Linked DNA regions of Homo sapiens: regions 1 and 3 are each linked to region 2. Evidence: promoter capture Hi-C in human tissues and cell types (Jung and others, 2019). All regions are on one chromosome and are shown on one strand. The core of a region is centred on a gene start or on the middle of the fragment in contact, and the rest is flanking DNA. Distances in the headings are between cores, read along the strand shown. Region 1 holds the start of AKT1 (AKT serine/threonine kinase 1). Region 2 holds the start of CDCA4 (cell division cycle associated 4). Region 3 has its middle 14 kb from the start of CEP170B.

Region 1 (4,068 bases), core at 1,403-3,902, 230 kb after region 2:
ACCCCCAGCCCCTGAACCTTCAGAGCAAGTAGGGGTGGCCTGCCACACTGGGGCTCTGGGCAACAGGCTGACAGCTCCCCACTGCAGGCTGGGAGCAAGCACCCTAGCCTGCCCTGCCTGGCTGGCGGGACAGAGAGAGCCTGGACACTTAATGGGGGTTGTGGTACACAGGGAGGGTCAGGATGCTGCCTTCAGGAGCCTAGGGTAGGACCTGGAAGGAGGGCCCAGCTAGGAATGGGCTAGATGAAGGGGAGGGGACAGTGGGAGAGAAGCTCCTTATCCCTCTCAGGTCGGGATGTCTGGGTTCAAGTCCCTCCTGCCCCACACCGATCAGGGAAGGGGGGCTGTTCCAGGCAGAGACCGCCCAGAGTTGGTGCTGGGATCCTGGCCAGCCTGTAGTCCTCAGAGCCCCTGTGACTGGCTGGGTCTCAAGTGCAGGAATGACAGGACACCGTCACACAGCCACTGTCGCGGCGGTGGTGGTTCAGGCAGAACCTCTGCAGACTCAGGCGGCCATCTGGCCTGGGAGCTGCCCTGAGGCCCCGCCCTGCAGCTGCTGCTGGGACCTACACAGCCCAGGGCCCTCGAGTCCTGCCCCCGGCCAGCAGCTGCAGAAGGTGACAGGGCAGGAGGCCCCTGAGCTCTGGGAGGAGGCAGCCGTCGGGCCCTTCCCTGGTGCAGCAGTTTTTGTCGGAAACATCTGGCCACAGAGCACCTCAGCAGTCCCAGCAGCAGCCGTGGGGCTGGGTTCTCTCCTGACCATTCTGTCTGGGGTGGGAGGGGGTGTTCTTGAAGAGAGGACTCTGCTTTCCCTCTGGGACGCTGGAGGAGAGGGAGATGGCCCTGCCCACTGGGAGATCCCCGTCTTGGGGGAGGGCAGTTCATGCCAAGGTGAAGACAGGACTGGAGTGTGGGGCCCACAGTGGGTTGCAGGCACCAGCAGATGCCAGGGCACCAGGCTGGGAAGACTGGGAGGCCTCCTTGGAGACAGCCAGTGCAAAATAAGCAAGAGGTCCAACCACTTCAAGAACAGCCCGCAATGTCACTGCCTCTTCCATGAGAGGGTGCCCTGCTCCCTCCCACATCCCCAAGCCTCGGCCACTTGCTGGCCTTGTCTCATGGCCCTCTTACCCTCTGCTTCCTCCCTGAATTCCTTCCTCCATCCTTGCATGGCAGAGCCCAGGATGGTGGACAGATACCAGGAACTCTTCCTCGGGGAGCAGTGGGCAGGTGGGACAGTCCCAGAGGGAGCCCCAGGTGGCTCATGGTGCAGGTTTGCTGGGTGAGAGACAGACACCAGACGCCCAGGCTCTGGGGGCAACCCTTGTGTCAGGTATCCCACCCAAGCGGCGCAGACCACTGGGCCTCTGACTTGGCCCCCTGGAGGTGGGCCCTTCCTGGGGTTACAAAGTCTGAGCTGGGAGGGAGCAGAGGTGCTCAGGCGAGAGGCAGGAATGGGGAGTCCCCTGTCTGAGGAGCGAGTGCCCTCATGCAGGGGGAGAGAGTCCTTCTCTTGGTCAGCCCCAAGAGGCAGGGATGAAGCCCGAGTTTTGGCTGCAGACTCTGTCCTGAGCACTGGGCCGAACCTGCTGCCTCTGTCTGCATCTCCTCCCACCCCCTCCCCTGCTGCCAGCTGAACTCACTCTGGCTGAAAATAAAAATGCTCCCCCAACCCCAATACTTAGCAGCCTCAGGAAGGTAACTCACAAGAGTCTGTCTTTCACAAAAGGGTTATTATCAACTGTGGGCCTCTGGAATGGGGGAGGGGCAGTTGTCGGAGGAACTTCTGGCTAGGAAGGGGTCGGGGTGGCAGTCACCTGCACTCTCCTGTGAGTGTCCAGGAGAAAGGGGTCTGTGTCCCACTTACTCATTCCATACCCGGGCCATCTGCCTCCCAGTGGACTTCGGACTGGGTGTCCGGGCTGACCAAGTCCACCCAGCAGGGAGGGCTCTGGGCTGTCAGCTGTCACAGCCCACCCTAGACACCGCTCCTCCTCTGTCTGGTGTCTGCTCCCAGCTCAAGGTGGGAGCCAGGCAAGGTGTGCCCCTCTTCTCCCACTCCCCAGCAAAGTCCCCCTTTTGTGAGTGTAGCTGCCAGTACCTAGGTGAATGGTTGACTCCCCTCGGAGCCTTCCTGCTCCTTGGAGGCCCACCTCCAACTGACCTCCTGTCCTGGCATCCTCCCGCACTTCCCCCAGAGGCACAAGGTCTTGGGATTGGGCCTTTTAGGTCACTCTTGGCCGCCCCCTCCACGCCCCCCAGAGTGGGGCAGCCTGAAAGTCAACCTAAGCCACCCCCGCCCCGCGCGCGGAGGCAGAAGTCCGGGATTCGTCCCTGACCTGTCTCGGGCCCCTTCTGCTAGGGTCACGGCAGAGCGAGCCCAGAAGCGCCGGGTCACTTTACAGACGGGGAAACTGAGGCCAGAGAGGGCGTGGCCCCGGGACGGGCTGGCTGGTGGCCGGGCTCCGTTAGCGGCCCAGCCCAGGCCCCAGGTCGTCGGGAGCTGCCCCTCAGCCCGGCCGCGCGCTCCCCGAGCGCGCTCCGCCCTCGCCGCCGGCCGCGCGGTGGGGACGCCCCGGGCGGCGGAGGCGGATGTGGGCGGGCGGCTCCGGGCGCGGGGCGGGCGCGGGGCGGGGAGAGGGCGGGCCGGCGGCGGCGGCAGGACCGAGCGCGGCAGGCGGCTGGCCCAGCGCACGCAGCGCGGCCCGAAGACGGGAGCAGGCGGCCGAGCACCGAGCGCTGGGCACCGGGCACCGAGCGGCGGCGGCACGCGAGGCCCGGCCCCGAGCAGCGCCCCCGCCCGCCGCGGCCTCCAGCCCGGCCCCGCCCAGCGCCGGCCCGCGGGGATGCGGAGCGGCGGGCGCCGGAGGCCGCGGCCCGGCTAGGCCCGCGCTCGCGCCCGGACGCGGCGGCCCGGTGAGTCCCCGCCCGCCGTGGCCGCCCGGGCCTGGATTTCCTCCCCGCGGGCCGGGCCGCTTTGTTCGCGGCCGGTCGGGCCGGGGCGCGAGCCGCGGCGCCGCCAGAATGGAGGAGCGGGAGCAGGAAGTGGCCGAGCGGGCCTGGGCGGGGAGGGCGCGGGGCGCGCGGGCCCGGCCAAGGGAGGGCGGCCCCACGCCGGGCGCCGGGGGTGCAGGCTGCCGGCCCCAGCCTCCCTCATGACCTTGGGGAGGCCGCTCCGCCGGGCGAGGCCGGGACCCGAGAGAAGGGACGCCGCCGGGCCTGGAGCTGGGGCTCGGGGTGCCCCTGCGGGCCGTGGGGCTCCCCGGGCGCTGGGCCAGCGAGGCAGCCGGCGGAGGTGCCCCGGGGTTGGAGAAAGACTCGCCGCGGCCGGCCTTCAAGTTTGTGGGAGGGCCCCGGAAGGAGACTTCGTTTCCCACGGACGAAAAGTTGTACGTGGTGGCGGGGTACCCAGGCTAGCCACAAAGGACTGTGACCCTCCTGGGCCCCGGAACTGCTTCCTGTCTTGGGTGGGCCCTGGAGGTCCTGCCCGCCCATCCCAGAGGCCAAGGCTTGGAGGGCAGCTGGGGCTTGCCCCTTAGATTGAGTATCCTGGGGCGCTAGCGAGCTTGGTCCTGTCGGGACGGCCTCTGAGTGCTGCCTTGGTCAGCGGGTGAGCTTGGGCCCCTGCTCTGCAGCCAGAGGCCGCCCCACATTCACTCCTGGGTCTCTCGGCCTTGCTCCAGGTGGCCACTTCTTGACTGCTTTGAGTCCCTCATCCGAGCGAAGGGCGGACGGAGTCCGTTGGTGGGGGTCCGGTTGCCTCTCCCGGGAGCTGTGTAGACTTCTCATACACCAGGGTTCTGGAGGCAGATGGAGGAGCCCTTTCGAAAACAGAGTATTTTTTTTTAAGTTGTGACTTAATAATAGTAGCAAGAATATGTGCTTATGGTAAAGGCAGGCGGCAGGTACGGAGGCTGTGGGAAGTCGGGGTCCCTCCGCCCCCACAGGCAGCCCTGTGCTGGCCTGGTGTATACGTTTCTGTGCAGACGTACACCACCCTGTGTGAGCACAGATGTATTTTTACACATGGCTCTGGACAGCTGTCTGACTCTGTCAGCAGCAGGCCTT
Region 2 (3,552 bases), core at 470-2,969:
CCTCCTGAGTAGCTGGGATTACAGGTGGGTGCCACTATTTCCAAACCACTTTTCTTTGGTGATCTAGATTTCATTTGCATTTGCAGAATATCTGTATATTAAGGAATTTAACCTTTATGTGGGATACAGCCAGGAAAAACTTTTTTCCCCATTTGTCTTTTCACTTTGACATGCATAAACTTTAAATTCTCAGGTAGTCACCTTTATCAAGTCCCATTTTCTTTTACCTGGGCAGTAACCTAATGGGATTTTCTACTTCCAGCCTTCCTGCCACCTCCTCCAAATCTATTACCAACAGTGATTCTTGGTGGTTGTGGTGCCTCATGCCTGTAATCCCAGAACTTTGGGAGGCCAAGGTAGGAGGATCACTTAAGGCCAGGAGTTGGAGACCAGCCTGTGTAACAAGACAATACCCTGTCTCTACAAAATTACCAAAAAAAAAAAAAAAGTTAGCTTGGTGTAGTGGCACACTTCTGTAGTCCCAGCTACTTGGGAGGCTGAGGCGTGAGAATCACTCGAGCACAAGAGTTCGAGGATACAGTGAGCCATAATCACGCCACTGTTGTCCAGCCTGGGCGAAAGAGACCCCCTTTTTTTTTTTTTTAAATAAGAACAGTGATTCTTTTCAAGCACAATTCAGATTCCAGTTCCTTCTCTGCTGACCATGCCAGTAGTCTCCATCCCACTCCCAGAATAGCCCAAAAGTCCCTCCACCCCTCACACTTAAAACTTTCCCACGAGATCACAGGGTTCTTTCTCACTGCACTGAGACGTGCTCCTGCCTCCTGCCCCTGCCTCGGGCTTTGCCCCAGCCATTCCTCTCCTGAATTCTCGTCCACTCTTCCTTTTGGTGCTTTAAGACGCTCCTTATCCTAGAGACCTATGTGAGCAGCGCCCCCACGTCACTCCCAGGTTTCCCGACAGCATTTCAGCATTTACCACCGACCTTGGCGCATCCGCACCTGCGGATTGATCTGAGGATTCCCCCCCAACTTCCAGCACTTGGCTCTCAGCTGCAGCCACGCCTGCCGGGCCTGCTGCAGGCGCTCAGGGTATTACTTAAGTCAATGATTGCAGGTTCTCGCATCCTATTTAAAACCTTTTCCACTAAGAGATTTAAAACACGTGTCCCCTGCTTTGAACTTTCACGTTACATTTCTTACGTGTAAACCTAGGAAGCCTTTGGAGATAACCCCGGTCTCTGGAGAGGCTTGGATAGACCTCGGAGCCCAGACCGCCCGGGAATTGCCGTGCCCGGCTCCTCCCGACCCCGGCACGGATGCCTCGGCGGAGAAGTTGAGCCAGGCAGAAGCGAGAGAGTCCAAACCTCTGTTTGCCCCGCCACGCCCGCCCGAGGGCCCCACGTGGGCCCCAGGCGCAGGCGCGTTCAGTTCAGGGCCAGACGCGCGGAGACCTGGGAGCTGGCGGGGCGGGGCCGGACTGGGCGCGGGGAGACCTGGGAGCCGGCGGGGCGTGGGCGTGGCGGGGCCGGGCGCAGGGGCGGGGGCGGGGCAACCGAGGGCGCGCGCGAGCCCCAACGGCCGTCGCCGCAGCGCGGGAAGACGCGCCACAGATGCCCCGCCCGCGTGGGTTTGAACAAGAGGCCCCGCCCCCGGCCCGCGAGTGGCCAATCAGCGGGCGTAGCGCGCGGAGAGCGCAGCGTCGACCCTTTGTGGACGCCGAGTGGCGGTCGCTCGCCCCGCCCCGCGCCGTCGGGCGCTCCTTCCTCAGCGGCGGGAAGCTGGCGGCAGCGGCGGTGGCGGTGGCTGAGCAGAGGACCCGGCGGGCGGCCTCGCGGGTCAGGTGAGCGGGCCCGGCGGACCGCTAGGGCGTCTACGGCGGCGTGCACTTTTGTGCTGCAGGGCGCGGAGGAGCCTGGGGGCGGTGCGCGGAGTCTGTGGCTCCTGGCGCTGGGTCCGGGGCGGAGGCGGCGCCCGGGACCACCGCTGGGGCTGCCGCGGCGCCCTCGCCGCCCTCCTGGGCGCTGGTTCCCCCGCGGGGTGGCCGCTGCTGAGGGGGCCCGGGGAACAGAGGGGCCCGGGCCGCCGTCTGCGTTCCTTGCGGAGCGCGGAGCTGGGGCTTTGCCGAGGCCTGCGGGCGGCCCCACGCGGGAGCCGCTTCACGAGGGCCCGGCTGGGGTACGCAGCGGCGTTTCCCGTACCTCGGCTCTAGTTGCAGCGGAGGGAACGCCAGGCGCGCCGCAGCCCCCTCTGTCGGAGCCCGGCCGCGGAGAGGGCCGCGGATGTGGGAGGAGGCCCAGACCCCGGGCGGGTCGGCCAGCGCCGTCTTCCCTGGGCTCCTCCGGCGGTGCGAGGTGGGACTAGGGAAAGTCCCCGAGACACTTGCAGAAGTCAGACGCAAGCCTCCCTCCGCGTCTTCAGACGCTTCTCGCCCCGCAAACAGGATCGTCGTGGCAAAGGCTCCGACAGCTTGCTGGAATAGAGGGTCTCCGCTGCCTCGCTTCTCCTGTGGCCTTCGTGTGGGACGCACGGGACGGCGGGACCCAGATAACCGTTCTCTCAAAGCGAGCCACAGAAAAACATTGCCTGTTCACAAAACTTACGTTTTATCAACTTTCTACGTACAACCACTCTATTTTCAAGTGTCACCGTGTTTTATAATTAGGGTGGAAATCCAGAATACAAAGTGAGTTACACCCCTTTTCTAGGAAGAGTAGTAGGCTGTATCTTGGAAAAGGGGCTAGGAAGTTTCCCTCAACTTGCCACTGGAACATGTTTTCAGGGAAAAGAAGGAGTGTGTTTCGTTCCAAGTAACAAAAGTACCTGCAATTGGCTGGGCGCGGTAGCTCACACCTCCCAGCACTTTGAGAGGAGGCCTAGGCGGGTGGATCTCCTGAGGTCCCGAGTTCGAGACTAGCTGGCCAACGTGGTGAAACCCCGTCTGTACTAAAAATACAAAAATTAGCTGGGCGTGATGGCGCATGCCTGTAATCATAATCCTAGCTATGTGGGAGGCTGAGGCAGGAGAATCGCTTGAACCAGAAAGGCAGAGGTCTCAGCCGAGATCGTGCCATTGCACTCCAGCCTGGGCGACAGAGCGAGACTCCGTCTCAAAAAACAAAAAAAACCAAATACCTGAAATTAACATAACAGTAATTGTTCATGAACAGCCTCCAGGAGACTTGTAGTGGAAGGTGGAGCTCCCACTCAGTACTCAAGACTGCAGACCTTGCTCCTCTTCTCCCTGTTTTTCCGATAAAGTATTTCAAAGCTTATCTGATGTGTGAGGAATGGAAATTGTTGATGATTTGCTTAAAAACCCGAAACTTTGAAGTGGCTGCAAGTCCAGCTGTGAAGGTGACAGGTTAGGTCAGAGTTGAGTCTGTCCCCAACCGTCCCAGCCCTACTGATCAGAATCTGGGAATCTGCGTTTTCAGCCAGCCTCGTGGTATTGCTCAGCCACGAAGGTGTGGCCACTGCTGCTGTAGTGAAGGACCAGTCCCCGAGCTGTACTCTGCTTGCCTGAGCAGCACTGCGGGGCTGCTCCCTGCTGGCCTCTGCCTCGGTGGGCCTAGGTTGCTCTGTCCCTAGT
Region 3 (3,598 bases), core at 249-2,748, 170 kb after region 2:
ACTGTACCTCGCCCTGCACACGTGCTTAGATATGCTTTCTCCAAGTACTGTTCTTTGGAATACTGGTAATAAATATTTCTATGAGCTGGGCACGGTGGCTCACTCCTGTAATCCCAGCATTTTGGGAGGCTGAGGCGGGCGGATCATCTAAGGTCAGGAGTGCAAGACCAGCCTGACCAACATGGATAAACCCCATCTCTACTAAAGATACAAAATTAGCTGCGCGTGGTGGCGCATGCCTGTAGTCCCAGCTACTCGGGAGGCTGAGGCAGGAGAATTGCTTGAACCCGGGAGGCAGAGGTTGCGGTGAGCTGAGATCGCACCACTGCACTCCAGCCTGGACAACAAGAGTGAAACTCCATCTCAAAAAAAAAATTTTTTTTTCTATGGAAAAAAGTCTATTTTGTGAGATATACATATATTTTTTTTTAAATAAAAATGTGTTGGTCCACCCCCCCCACACCTCCACCCCTGCAGTCAAAGCCACTGACCATGGAGCCAGGAGCCACCCAATGAGGTGTCTTTTCTCTAAGGATGGTGAAGTTAGAGAAGGCTCCTTTAAACCTCCTCCACCATGTGCCAGAAACCCAGAGAACACTCACGGCGGCCCTGAGCTCTCGAGAATCGTTGTGCAATGCCCATTCCAGCAGCCATGCACATCTCATGGCCAGGGTGAGCCTAGGAAGGAAGGGCAGAGGATGACACATTCGACGTGAGTAGGACTTTCTGTGTGTCCACTCTGTGGGGCTCTTCTTTGGAACGTCACTGTGGACACAGGAGTCAGAGGTGAACGAAGGCACTGAGAGGGGATGGGGCACTGGCATTGGAGGAGTGAGGAGCACCCAGCCATCCTTATTCGCTTTACTGCTTTTGGCAGTTTTTCTGTTTGATGTGTTAATTCGTGTACACGCTGCATGCCAGCCGCCACTGATGGCCGCCTTAACGGCGGTGCTGACCACGGCTGCTTTGTCAGCACAGGTGAAGCTGTTGAAACGCCTCTCAGAGGGGCCTCTGGTGGCACTGCCCATCTCTTCCCTCAGCCTCTCCTGAGTGAGGCCTGCTGCGGGGTTTCCGAGAGTTCCCTCAGGAAGCGGCAGAAGGGAGCAGATGCCCGAGGTCAGGTGCCTGAGAGACGGTAGCATTTGGACAGCCCAGTAGCCTTTCCCATGGTCACGCAAATTCTCCTGAAACTCAGGCAGGGTCTGAAGAAACACAAGATGGCACAAAGCCATCCCCAGAGCCGTGGGTCCCACGTGGTTAAATGTGGAAAACACTCGCTGAGGGTCATAGTGGAAAACAGCGGCTGGAGATGGGGTCTTCCTGTTGGCTGCCGAGACGGTGACATCTACAGGTGTTGAGTGGCTAAAAAAATGTATTCCTTGCAATGCCTCACAGACATGGTAACGTATGCACATATGCGTAGTGGCCTGCCAGGGCTGGTAAGATAACATCCCTTCTATATTCAGGGAGATGAAATCTGATCTTTTTTTTTTTTTTTTTTTTTTTGAGACAGAGTCTTGCTCTGTCACCCAGGCTGGAGTGCAGTGGCGTGATCTTGGCTCACTGCAACCTTCGCCTCCCAGGTTCAAGCGATTCTCCTGCCTCAGCCTCCTGAGTACCTGGGACTACAGGTGCCCACCACCACGCCTGGCTAATTTTTTGCATCTTTAGTAGAAACAAGGTTTCACTGTGTTGCCCAGACTGGTCTCAAACTCCTGAGCTCAGGCAATCCACCCGCCTCAGCCTCCCAAAGTGCTAGGATTACAGGTGCCAGCCACCGCGCCTGGCCAGAATCTGATCTTTTGATGGATAGTTGCAGAAAAGTCTTCTGCTATATTCCTAATCAAAGTCTTCTTAGAATATTGAAATATCACCTTTTTAGTAAGCGAAATGCCTTTTCATTTTATCCAAAACAACACAGATAGAACTATTTGTTTCATGTGTCAGATTTTATATTCCTTTCATATCACTACATTTCCCCTTGTGTTTTTTCACTCATGCACATGCAGTCTTTGTACTTTTTTTTTTTTTTTTTTGAGATGGAGTTTCATTCTTGTTGTCCAGGCAGGAGTGCAATGGCATGATCTTGGTTCACTGCAACTTCCGCCTCCCAGGTTCAAGTGATTCTCCTGCCTCAGCCTCCCGAGTAGCTGAGATTACAGGCGTGCACCACCACGCCCGGCTAATTTTGTATATTTAGTAGAGATGGGGTTTTCAAGTTGGCCAGGCTGGTCTCCAACTCCTGACCTCAGGTGATCCACCTGCCTCTGCCTCCCAAAGTGCTGGGATTACAGGTGTGAGCCACCACACCTGGCCTGTGCCTGGCTAATTTTAAAGTTTTTTTGTAGAGATGAGGTCTTGCTATGTTACCCAGGCTGGTCTTGAACTCCTGACCTCAATAGATCCTCCTGCCTTAGCCCACAAAGTGCTGAAATTACAGGTGTGAGCCACCATGCCTGGCCCTAATTTTAATAATTTCTTATATCAATCAAATCATCCAGTAGATCATTCTTCCTGTCTACCAGGCAAATCTATAAGTACTCATTATCATTTATTAGGCCATTTAATTCTTTTTTTTTTTTTTTTGAAACGGAGTTTCTTTCTTGTTGCCTAGGCTGGAGTACAATGGCGTGATCTTGGCTCACTGTAACCTCCACCTCCCAGGTCCAAGCGATTCTCCTGCCTCAGCTTCCCAAGTAGCTGGGATTACGGGCATGCACCACAACACCTGGCTAATTTTGTATTTTTAGTAGAGACGGGGTTTCTCCGTGTTGGTCAGGCTGGTCTCGAACTCCTGACCTCAGGTGATCTGCCTGCCTCGGCCTCCCAAAGTGCTCGGAGCACAGGCGTGAGCCACCGCGCCCGGCCCCATTTAATTCTTTATAGTAATCAGGAACCTCTATGCTCTCAAAAATAAAGCTTCCCACAAAGCAAAAACACCTACTTGTGGCTGTGGTAAATAACAAGTATCAGACACCAAAAGCAACTCTAAAAACTAGTTTAAAAACAACAACAGGCCGGGCACGGTGGCTCACGCCTGTAATCCCAGCACTTTGGGAGGCTGAGGCGGGTGGATCACGAGGTCAGGAGTTCAAGACCAGCATGACCAACATGGTGGAACCCCGTCTCTACTAAAAATACAAAAAATTAGCCAGGCGTGGTGGCAGGTGCCTGTACTCCCAGGTACTTGGGAGGCTGAGGCGGGAAAACGGTGTGAACCCAGGAGGTGGAGCTTGCATTGAGCCGAGATCGAGCCATTGCATTCCAGCCTGGGCGACAGAGCAAGACTCTGTCTCAAAACAACAGCAACAACATAACAGCTGTTTGAAGGCATTGGAGAGCAACCAAGGCAGCCAGGACTTGAGGGACTGAGAACCTGAGAAAAGGGAATCACATTGAGATGAGCCTGGCAGGTACTTAGAGACCAAGCAGAAAGTGGCAGCTCAGAGCTTCTGGGATTCTCACAGGCCTGGGGAGGCAAATATTGGCATTGGAAGCTACCATTCAATCTTCTGTGCCTCTTTTCCCATTAAGATATTTGCCAATCTCTAAGCTGTTTTGGGTAGGAGGTTACAAAGTCAAGCAGAAAATGGCAGCT

The links. The method cuts DNA at HindIII sites, captures the fragments that hold promoters and counts their contacts. A contact is called where the count stands out against the background at its distance.
Region 1: the fragment with the promoter of AKT1 here is called in contact with the fragment with the promoter of CDCA4 in region 2 in 1 of the 25 tissues and cell types used here (liver).
Region 3: a fragment that was not itself captured here is called in contact with the fragment with the promoter of CDCA4 in region 2 in 1 of the 25 tissues and cell types used here (dorsolateral prefrontal cortex).

The regions. Positions count from the first base shown.
Region 1 is chr14:104,794,332-104,798,399 of GRCh38, reverse strand. AKT1 (AKT serine/threonine kinase 1) reads left to right here and starts at 2,652. Exons shown (of 15, transcript NM_001382430.1): 1 at 2,652-2,916. RefSeq lists enhancers at 1-730, 731-1,503, 3,545-4,068 and silencers at 2,341-2,700, 2,881-2,930, 2,961-3,280. The HindIII fragment of the contact is 31,557 bases long and covers 1-4,068 here.
Region 2 is chr14:105,019,250-105,022,801 of GRCh38, reverse strand. It overlaps CDCA4 (cell division cycle associated 4), which reads left to right and starts at 1,719. Exons shown (of 2, transcript NM_017955.4): 1 at 1,719-1,803. RefSeq lists enhancers at 924-983, 999-1,512, 2,027-2,542, 2,994-3,552 and silencers at 1,284-1,353, 1,384-2,273, 2,284-2,373. The HindIII fragment of the contact is 13,458 bases long and covers 1-3,552 here.
Region 3 is chr14:104,849,519-104,853,116 of GRCh38, reverse strand. No RefSeq gene overlaps it. Among named protein-coding and RNA genes, the nearest start is that of CEP170B, 14 kb to the left of the region's middle. The HindIII fragment of the contact is 3,543 bases long and covers 1-3,269 here.